2 separate regions of the Homo sapiens genome follow, and region 2 is linked to region 1. The links are contacts of gene promoters, found by promoter capture Hi-C in blood cells and fetal thymus (Javierre and others, 2016). All regions are on one chromosome and are shown on one strand. The core of a region is centred on a gene start or on the middle of the fragment in contact, and the rest is flanking DNA. Distances in the headings are between cores, read along the strand shown.

Region 1 (4,731 bases), core at 997-3,496:
CTTGTGCCAGTCAGGGCCCAAGAGAGGACATCTCTTACATGGGGAGCCCACGAGGGGCTGACAGGCCACCAGGATGTACAGATCCCTGCCCGCCTTCCCAAGTTCTGTGGTAAATAGAGGGGGTTGAGGGAGTCAGGTTCCAGGGCAAACCTAGACAGTCGAGGTAAACTACTGTCCCTCAAGCCTTCTCCCCAACCAGGTCTTTTACTCCCTACTGCCAAGGAGAGATACTCTTGATGGCACCCAACCTGCTGTCCCCTTCCTGGGGGACACTTGGGGTCTACAGGGTCTTTGGAGCAGCAGGTGGGAGTGGAGGCACAGGGGGTGCACAGCAGCTCCCACCAAATGGCTGCATGGGTGGCTGGGATGCCAAAGGAAGCCTGCATGGGATTAAGAGCCTCAGCATGGCAGGCAGAGCCAGCAGCACTGTGAGGCTCCCTTAGGCCTGGGGCAAACCTGAGAAGGGAGTGGGTTCCCTGGACATGTAAAGCTGGTTCTAAGTCATTGAGGTCCACCCAGAAAAAGAATGTCCTCAGAAATGATGCTGACAATCAAAACCACAATGAAATGCCATTTCGCCCCCAATAGGATGACTAGAATAAAAAAAGACACACAATTACAAGTGTTTGCAAAGATGTGGAGATATTGGAACCCTCATATGTTGTTGGTGGGAATGTAAAATGGTGCAGCTGCTTTGGAAAACAGTTTGGCAGTTCCCCCAAAAGTTAAACATGGAGTTAACATATGATCCAGGAATTCCACTCTTAGGTATATACCCAAGAGAAAGAAAAGCATATGTTCATACAAAGACTTGTACATGAATATTCATAGCAGCTTTATTCACAGTAGCCCCAAAGCAGAAAACTAAATATCCATCAAGTGATGCAGGGATAAACAAAACGTATAGACATACAGTGAAATATTACTCAGTCATGAAAAGGAATGAAGTACTGCTACATGTTACAACATGAATAGATCATTAAACATTGGTTACTGAAAGAAGCTAGTCATAGTCACAAAAGGCCACATGTTGTATGATTCCGTTTATAGAAAATGTCCTGAATAGGGAAATCCATAGAGATTGAAAGTAGATTAGTGGTTCCCAGAGGCGGAGGAAAGGGGTGAATGAGGAGTGACTGCTAACGGGTAGTTCTTTTTGTGAGGGGCAGGGGAGGGGAGTGGGAAGTGGTGAAAATGTTCTGGAATTAGCTCATGGTGATGGTTGCAAAACTTTGTGAATATGCTAAACACCACTGAATCGTACACTTTTTTTTTTTTGAGACAGCGTCTCACTCTGTTGCCCAGGCTAGAGTGCAGTAGCGCAATCTCGGCTCACTACAACCTCTGCCTCCCGGGTTCACGTGATTCTCCTGCCTCAGCCTCCCGAGTAGATGAGATCACAGGCACGTGCCGCCATGCCGGGTTGACTTTTGTATTTTTAGTAGAGACGGGGTTTCACCATGTTGCCTAGGCTGGTCTTGAACTCCTGACCTCAGGCGATTCACCCGCCTCGGCCTCCCAAAGTGTTAGGATTACAGGCGTGAGCCACCGCGCCCGGCTTGAATTGTACACTTCAAAAGGTGGAATTTTATGGTGTTGAATTATATCTTTATTTTTTTAACGGGGGGAAAATGACGCCGCTGGAGAGGAGTTAGCGGAACTGAAACAATGAAATGGTGCGCGAGTGTCGCCTGTCCCCGTCGCATCCATCCCAACGAAGTTTGGGCCCTGGAACGGTGCACCCAGAAGGCCTGCGGGGAGAGACGCTGGGGCATGATCTGGAAGAAAGACGTCTCAGGATTCGAAGGGAATGCAGCTAAGGTGGCGGCGGAGGTTCGCCTAGGACTGGGGAGGCGTCCCTAGGCTCAGAAGTTGGCCCGGCCGGAGCGGAGATTTAAAGGTTGGAGCGCAGAGGCTCTTAAAGAGGCCGAGTCGAATTCCCACTCGGCGTCCACCTTAAAGCCAGCTCCCCGGCACCACGGATCTGACCCGGGTAAGTGCTGGGCCGCGGGAGAGGCTGCGGCGCCGACCCCAGCCCCTGGCGCTCTAGCGCGCCCTGCCGGGCCCAGGGGACTCGGCGCGGGTGGGCTGGACTTCGTAGGCGCGCGTCCTGGGGGCCGGGGTGCACGCGGGGGCGACAGGGTCGAGGCACCCGGCCCGGGCTCCCCACTGGCGCGCCCGCAGCGGCGCTCTATTTTTAGCAGGCGCTGTGGCAATATAAGGAATGCGCGGCGCGCTAGGCGCTCGGGGCGCACGCTGGCGGCGCGGTCGCTTTAAGGAGGCGCCGGGGCGGGGACGGACCGGAGTGGCCGGCTGGCGGGGAGCCGTCAGTCCGGCGGCCGCGGGGCCCGGCGGGCGCGACGCTGCCTCCTCACCGGCGCAGGCTAGGAGGGGGCGGCCTGAGTGCCGTAGCCGAGCCGGGGCTGGAGCGCGCGGTGAGTGGTCGGGCGGCCTTGGAGGGGAGGGGGCCCGGCCGCGCCGCCTCTCGCCCCGGCCGTCGCTTTGTTCCGGGGCGGGAGGTGTGGCCGCCCTCCGGGCTCGGCCGCGCTCTCCGCTTGCGGGGTGCGCCCTGGGACCGGCTGTGCGTGGCGTTTTGCCCCCATCGCGGGCTCCCGCGTAACGGTGTGCGTTCGTGAAATCGGCCACGACCAAGACCCCAGTGGGGAGGGCCTGCGCGCCGCTCAGAGAGACCCTTTCATGGTAATTACAGTTCCTTGGCTGCCTGGGCGAGAACCCGGTGGATAGATGGGCGGCAGGACGGGGCGGCGGGGGATGGGTGGGTGGGTGGGGGACTCTTTACCCCCCCGCCTTAAGATGGCGTTAACGAGGGGAGGGATCCGCCAGGGAGTTGACAAATTCATCTGAATAATAAAACGCAGCCTGCTTCATAAACAACCCTTCACTGCCCCCGGAGGTTTGGGGAGCTGGAGCTGTGGTCACAACTAGGGCCTGGGCTCATGCATTGAACTGATCTGGCTGAGGCATCAGACACGGTGCCAGTCCTGCCCTGCGGGGAAGACAAGAGCACAAAGTGACAAGCCAGTGTGGTAAGTGCTGAGATTCGGTAAGCCCAGGGGTTGTGGGAGCCCCTAGGGGTCCCTACTGCAGAGTGGGAGGTGAGAGAAGGCCGCCTAGAGGAGTTAATGTCTGGCTGGCCGCAGCGTATACACTGGACACCCAGTTAGACTCTGGCTAGAGCTGAGGTCTGTTCTGGCCTGGGGCAAAGTGGAGTCTGGAGAGGTGGACAGAGTCCATCAAGGCCACTGGGGCCTTGATCATAGAGCTCTGCCATTGCCCCTACTCCCCAATGGCCCCTGATGGTGTGGAACCTCCCTGGCCTTGCTCCTCTAGGACTCACTCTGTCCTGGACCTGACCAGAGAGGGTGGCTGACAAGGCTCGGAATCGTGGCCTCCAGAGGTTTGTCTGGCAGCAGAAGTAAGATGGAGATATGACTTTAAGAGCTCTGAAACTCCACTGTAATAACAGCAACCAACAGGGCTTCCAAAGACCAGGCACTTGAAGTGGATTTGCTCATCATTTGACAAGACACCTCTTGACAAGACACCTCCAGAAGGATTTTGTTTATTGTAAAGGATGGAGGAACTGGGGTGAAAAAGAGCCAACAGCTTGCCCAAGATCATATCTGAAGTCCATGCTTTTGGCCACGTGGCTGTCCTGGGCTTCGGAAGGCTCTGGTGCAGCCTGTGTTAGAGTTTTGTAATATATTGTTTTATAATTATTCACTATAGACATTCACTGGTGGGTTGAAGTGTGAGGCAGTGAGCTGTGGGTATTAATAACTGACTCGTGTCAGAAGCTTAGCAGTGAACAAAGCACTTTCTCGGATACGGTTCTTAGAGCTTCTCCTGCTTCTTTTCCCGGGGAAGAAACTTGAGCTGCTAACATTTTGTAAACCTCCTAATTTCCTGTAAATCACATGTCCCTGCTGAGTGGGGCTGAAAATGTTTCGGGCAATGGTTTTCACCCTTAGGTCTGTTCACACTGCCCAGCAGCCAGTTAGCTTCTCTCTGTAGTTTATGGTGTAGTTTGTCCTTTTTCTGCCGGGGTGGGAGGCATGGGGCTTTCATGCTCTGGGGTTTTTGAGGTCTGCCAGCCTCTGGGGAGGGAGGTGTTGGGCAAGCCTCGTGCTCTGGTGGAAACTGACCCCCTAGATGTGACCTCGGCATTTCCTAAAGCTGGGGGCGGGACTGGGGTAGGCGGTAGTCAAGGCCCTTTGGTGAAGCAAGCGATTGTCTCCAGCGTTGTCAGCTTCGCTCCTCCATAAGACAGTTGCTAATTTCCACCTCTGTTTTCACCTACATAAGACACTTTATGACAGGTTTAACTTTTATGTTATTATTAGCTCTAGCCACTGGTATTTCATACTCAGTTCGTCTGAGCTACTTATAAAGTGACAAGTCCAGCCAGGGCAACATGGTGAAACTCCGTCTCTACAAAAATTAGCTGGGCCTGGTGGCATGCACCTGTAGTCTTAGCTACTTGGGAGGCTGAGGTGGGAGGATTGCTTAAGCCCAGAAGGCAGAGGTTGGAGTGAGCCATGATCACGCCACTGCACTCCAGCTTGGGTGACAGAGCAAGACCCTGTCTCAAAAAAAAAAAAAAAAAAAAAAGTGACAAGTCAGTTACCCTTGGGGTTGGTTTGGTTCCTAAGCTCTAGTGATCACCTGGAACCAGGAATGACTATTGGCCTCTGATAAATTAGGCTCCTG
Region 2 (4,731 bases), core at 1-2,500, 1.0 Mb after region 1:
TGTTGTGATTGTTATTCTCTGGCTCCTCTTTACTTGATTGCAAATTTAAAAGAACACTCTGGCATTTTAGAAATATGTAAGCTTTGTATTTGAGCCTTTGCAAGTAAAGAATAAAAAGAGAATAGTTTACAATTCAGCCCACAGAATACGTTAGAACACTATAGAATGCTGAGTTTAGGAGAAGGTTCACTCCATATTAATCTTTTATTATACATGATTATGGTTAGAAAACGATTTGAGCTATGTTCAACACCAGCCATCTGTATATTTGACATAATGAACATGAGTCACAGAGTTTCAATTTTAATTACAGTTTTTGTTTTGTGATGCTTTAATATATGTTTGCAGTGCTGTGCATGTTGGTTGGGAAGCATTTTGTAACTTGAAAAGGAGAAAGGAACTTGGAATTCAGGTTTCTCAAATTACCAAAATCCTTCTGAGGAAAAATTGTATTATGTTGGCATGTGCTTTTTTTTTTTCGATTGGCAGTGTTGATGGAAGTTTCATCTATGTTATCTTCAGAACACATTTAGAGACTCCTACACCTCTGAAAACTTGAGAGTCAGTACTGTTTGGTTAATTTATACATTAATCAGGTGTGTATCAATTATCAGCAATGTGCAAAGCTCCATGTATGCCACTCCCGGTATTGCAAAAAATTATAATCCACATTTCCTGCCCTTTTCCAGTTATATAACAATATCTGAGGGATGCCAAAAATCTTGTGTGGGGTAAATTTCCAGTTGAATGGTATAAAAAGTAGGTAGAATTTAGAGGAGGAAGTGATCCCATGGCCTGGGAGTTGGCAGTTGGAAGATCGAAGTGACCAGAGACAGTTGGACCAGACAGCCTCTCAGACATGTTTATGTCTAATGCCAATATAAGAAATCATAAAAGTGTAGAAGTAAGACTCCTCATTCTTGGGTTTGTTCTTTTTATCCCAAGGACTTTAAACATAGATCATAAAGTAGTAAAATCTGTTTAGATGAGACTTTGGGATAGAGAAATGAAAGTTTGGAAAGGTCATAGCACTTCTTTCCTCTAAAATGGATATAGATGAATCTCAGCTTTTTTCGTATCGAACTCACGTTAGCACCATAGTTGGTACTTACTGAATACTTTCATTTTAGATTTCTGATTGTCAGATGCACAGCAGTGATTAGTGAAGGAAATATCAAACCTTGCCAAGTCTTTGAGGTTTAAAATTATCATTGATCTCATATGCATGATTGCATTTTATATTGTTGATTGCAAATTATTCTTATAATGGCCTTAGTGGGACACAGGAACTAAAAATACGTCCTCACAAACGCATCCTTGATTATGTTTTTCTATTTTAGGAGCGTTTTATTGTCGTCAGAGAACCAAGTGGCACACTACGCAAAGCCTCTTGGGAAGAACGGGACCGAATGATACAAGTTTATTTCCCAAAAGAAGGTCGTAAAATTTTGACACCAATAATTTTCAAGGAAGAAAATCTTAGGGTAAGGTGACTTAGGTTTTATGTTTTAGAGCCAGTGGTGATGATTTATTTGTAGAACCAGTTGGCTTTGTGCCTTGATCCAGATAAACATTTCTAATGATAACTTGACTTTTTTTTTTTTTTGAAATGGAGTTTCGCTCCTTTTGCCCAGGCTGAAGTGCAGTGGCGGGATCTCAGCTCACTGCAACCTCCACCTTCTGGTTTCAAGTGATTCTTCTGCCTCAGCCTCATGAGTAGCTGGGATTACAGGCGCCCGCCACCACGCTTGGCTAATTTTTGTATTTTTAGTAGAGATGGGGTTTCACCATGTTGGCCAGGCTGGTCTTGAACTCCTGACCTCGGGATTCGCACCCCCCCCCCGCAATCCGACTCCCAAAGTGCTGGGATTACAGGCGTGAGCCACCATGCCTGGCCGACTTCTTTCTTAATAGAATCCTCCTTACCACCCAAGATGGGTTGTACTAGGGTTCTCTCATAATTGGCTTAGCTGGAATTTGAATCTAGGTGTGACAATTACAAAGCCTGTGTTCTTTCTTTATGCTTCTTGAGGAGCACAGAGTGGCCAGTATGTGGGTGGGCAGGCCTGTCATGACATCAGGACAGGTGCTGAACTTCAGTGTTCTCATGTGATGCTAACTCTGCTGTGTGGTTTTAGACTATGTATAGCCAGGACAGGCATGTTGATGTCCTCAATCTCTGCTTTGCCCAGTTTGAGCCAGATTCCACAGAGTATATCAAGGTGAGTAGATTTTAGTTTCTAAAATATAGGCTTAAGTATGGTTATGAGTAAGATTTTTAATCTAGCTCAATGAATTTCGTTGTAAGTTTTGATACAGGGGAAAGGGAAGAGAAATACCTGAAAATCTATTGAGTACAGTTGTGTGCCAGATATATATTTTATAATCACAACAACCCTTGATTAAAGATGAGGGAATTTAAGCTTGTAGAATTAAGTAGCTTGCTGAAAGTTGCATAGCTACTAAGTGGTAGGGTTAGGACCCAAGTTTGATGACAAAGCCTATTCTCTTTTCAGTTTACCGTATAGGAATCAAATTATTTACTAAAATTTTGCTGAAGTACAGTGTGTTTGTCTTACAGCTCAGTAAGTATTCATTAGTACCTTCTATGTGTAAGGTATTATCTTGGGTAGTATAGGTGATGCCACGAACTAGGATAGAGTATGCTGTGCCAAAGCCAGCAGTCCGGATATGGCTGTGGGGAAAGGTGCTAGTAAGTATACAAATAATTATCTCCTCAGGCCTAAAATGCTAGACACTAAGAGAAGATTACAAATTCTTTGAAGAAAGCCTTCATAGGGGTGTAAAGGAGGGTTCTAGAAGTGCAGGAAATGTTGTGGCAGGTGGAGCTGGGTGAGGTGTTTCAGGTAGAGAGAACAGTATAAGCAACAGGCAGGAAAAAAGGAGGCTTGAGAAACGGCCAGTGATCTGGTTTGCTTATATATGCCATGTATATGTAGGGGAGTGATTAAAGATTAAGTTAGGAAGGTGGATGTAGCCACATCATAGGTGACCTCAGATGCTAGGCTGAGGAATCTGGAATTCAGTCAGCAGACCTTTGAAAGCCTTTTGAACAGAGGAATGCCCCCATCAGAACCTTCATTTAGGAAGATCAATCTGGAAGGAGGACTGAAGGACCTTTAGTTAATAAGATGGAATGGGCTAGCTGGTAGAATAGGGTAGTTGATGGGGGGAGGGATAGGGGAAAGGGAGAGTAGTGAAAAAATACTTGATTTCTTTTCTGCCATAGTGACCAAGAAGTGGGTGCTACATTATTTCCAGTGGTCTCTATATGCATAATCGGTGCTTAATAAATTGTAGTTGGCCTGCCAAAAAGTACTTAATATGGCTATAAATGTTTGGTATTTTGCTTCAGGCTGCCACATACTTCTACAGTGGAGAAGGCACAGACTTGCTGTCATTTAGACAAATTCTTCTCTTTTAATTTTTTTAAAGACAGGGTCTTATTCTGTGGCCTGCCATGCCCAGCTAATTTTTTAAAAAATTTTCCTAGAGATGAGGACTGCTCAAGCAGTCCTCCCACCTCAGCTTCCCAAAGTGTTGGGATTATAGGCATGAGCCACTGTGCCTGGCCAAAATTCTTTCTTAATAGAATCCTCCTTCCCACCTAAGGTGGGTTGTACTAGGAATGGTTTAAATCATACCAATTGGTTAATGATATGGAGGCAACTGTAAGTAGACCTGGTTTTACTTGCTTGGGCAGCACTCATGCTAATCAGTGTACGTTGAATAATGCTGCATACTTCTTATTTTCATGTTTCTGAAGAGTTGCATTTTATGTGGATAGGTTCATCACAAGACCTATGAAGATATAGATAAACGTGGAAAATATGACCTTTTACGTTCAACAAGATACTTTGGTGGAATGGTGTGGTATTTTGTAAATAATAAAAAGATTGATGGTTTGCTGATTGACCAGATTCAGAGAGATTTGTAAGTATGATCTTAGTAAGTGAAAGAATCATTCTTATTGCTCTAACAGTTCATCTGTATTTAGGCTATGGTATTTTTCCAGTGATAACAGTGTACTGTCTAGTGCTTGCTTACCTCAGTTTATGGATTTGTTCTTTTAGTATAACCTAGCTCTCCTAGTTTTTGCTTTTATATAAAGTGTAAGTAAGCCACTTACTTTCTCTTGAAAGAGTAAGTGGCTTTGGATCTGTACTGTAAACCCTCAATATTAACTTATCCTGAGCTCACCAATGCTCCTGGGTTGCTGAACTTTCCAGATACCGAAAGGGGGATTAAATAGGAAATGTAAAGAAGTAGAAATAAGCTCTGTGGTTGTTTTCTGGTAGAACTATTTCTAGGGCTTTTCAGTAAACACCATCCTTTAACTTATGAAAATACTTTTGATATCCCTTGCTTTTGCAAGATTTTTAAGGCATGAAAAAGTTAGCTTCTTTTCAGAGTAGCATGAAACAAAAAATACCTGTTGTATTTTAGCATCAAGCTGGTGTGCTCCCAGGCTTCTAGCTGGAAATAATAATACAACTTGTGGTAAAACTGAAGAGAAAATAGTTTTTGAGCATCTTTCTATCAGTTGATTTAGGAAGGCCAAAATGACAAGGAAGCAGCATGGCTGTAGTAAGAAAGTCAACTTTCCACAAAAAGCCCTTGCTGGACTCAAGTCTGAACTACAAGACAGTTTTGAGATTATTGCCACCTTCAGACTGTTAGTTTTTGACTCGCAGAGTATCCTAACATGTA

What was found. Contacts are between HindIII fragments. The CHiCAGO score rates a contact against its expected background, and 5 or more counts as called.
Region 2: a fragment that was not itself captured here is called in contact with the fragment with the promoter of MRAS in region 1 in 1 of 17 cell types (activated CD4 T cells); the score reaches 5.9 in activated CD4 T cells.

The regions. Positions count from the first base shown.
Region 1 is chr3:138,346,333-138,351,063 of GRCh38, forward strand. It overlaps MRAS (muscle RAS oncogene homolog), which reads left to right and starts at 2,247. Exons shown (of 6, transcript NM_001085049.3): 1 at 2,247-2,435. RefSeq lists an enhancer at 1,759-2,714. The HindIII fragment of the contact is 4,446 bases long and covers 1-3,816 here.
Region 2 is chr3:139,348,839-139,353,569 of GRCh38, forward strand. It overlaps MRPS22 (mitochondrial ribosomal protein S22), which reads left to right. Exons shown (of 8, transcript NM_020191.4): 4 at 1,341-1,484; 5 at 2,139-2,222; 6 at 3,809-3,954. Among named protein-coding and RNA genes, the nearest start is that of MRPS22, 7.2 kb to the left of the region's middle. The HindIII fragment of the contact is 2,342 bases long and covers 80-2,421 here.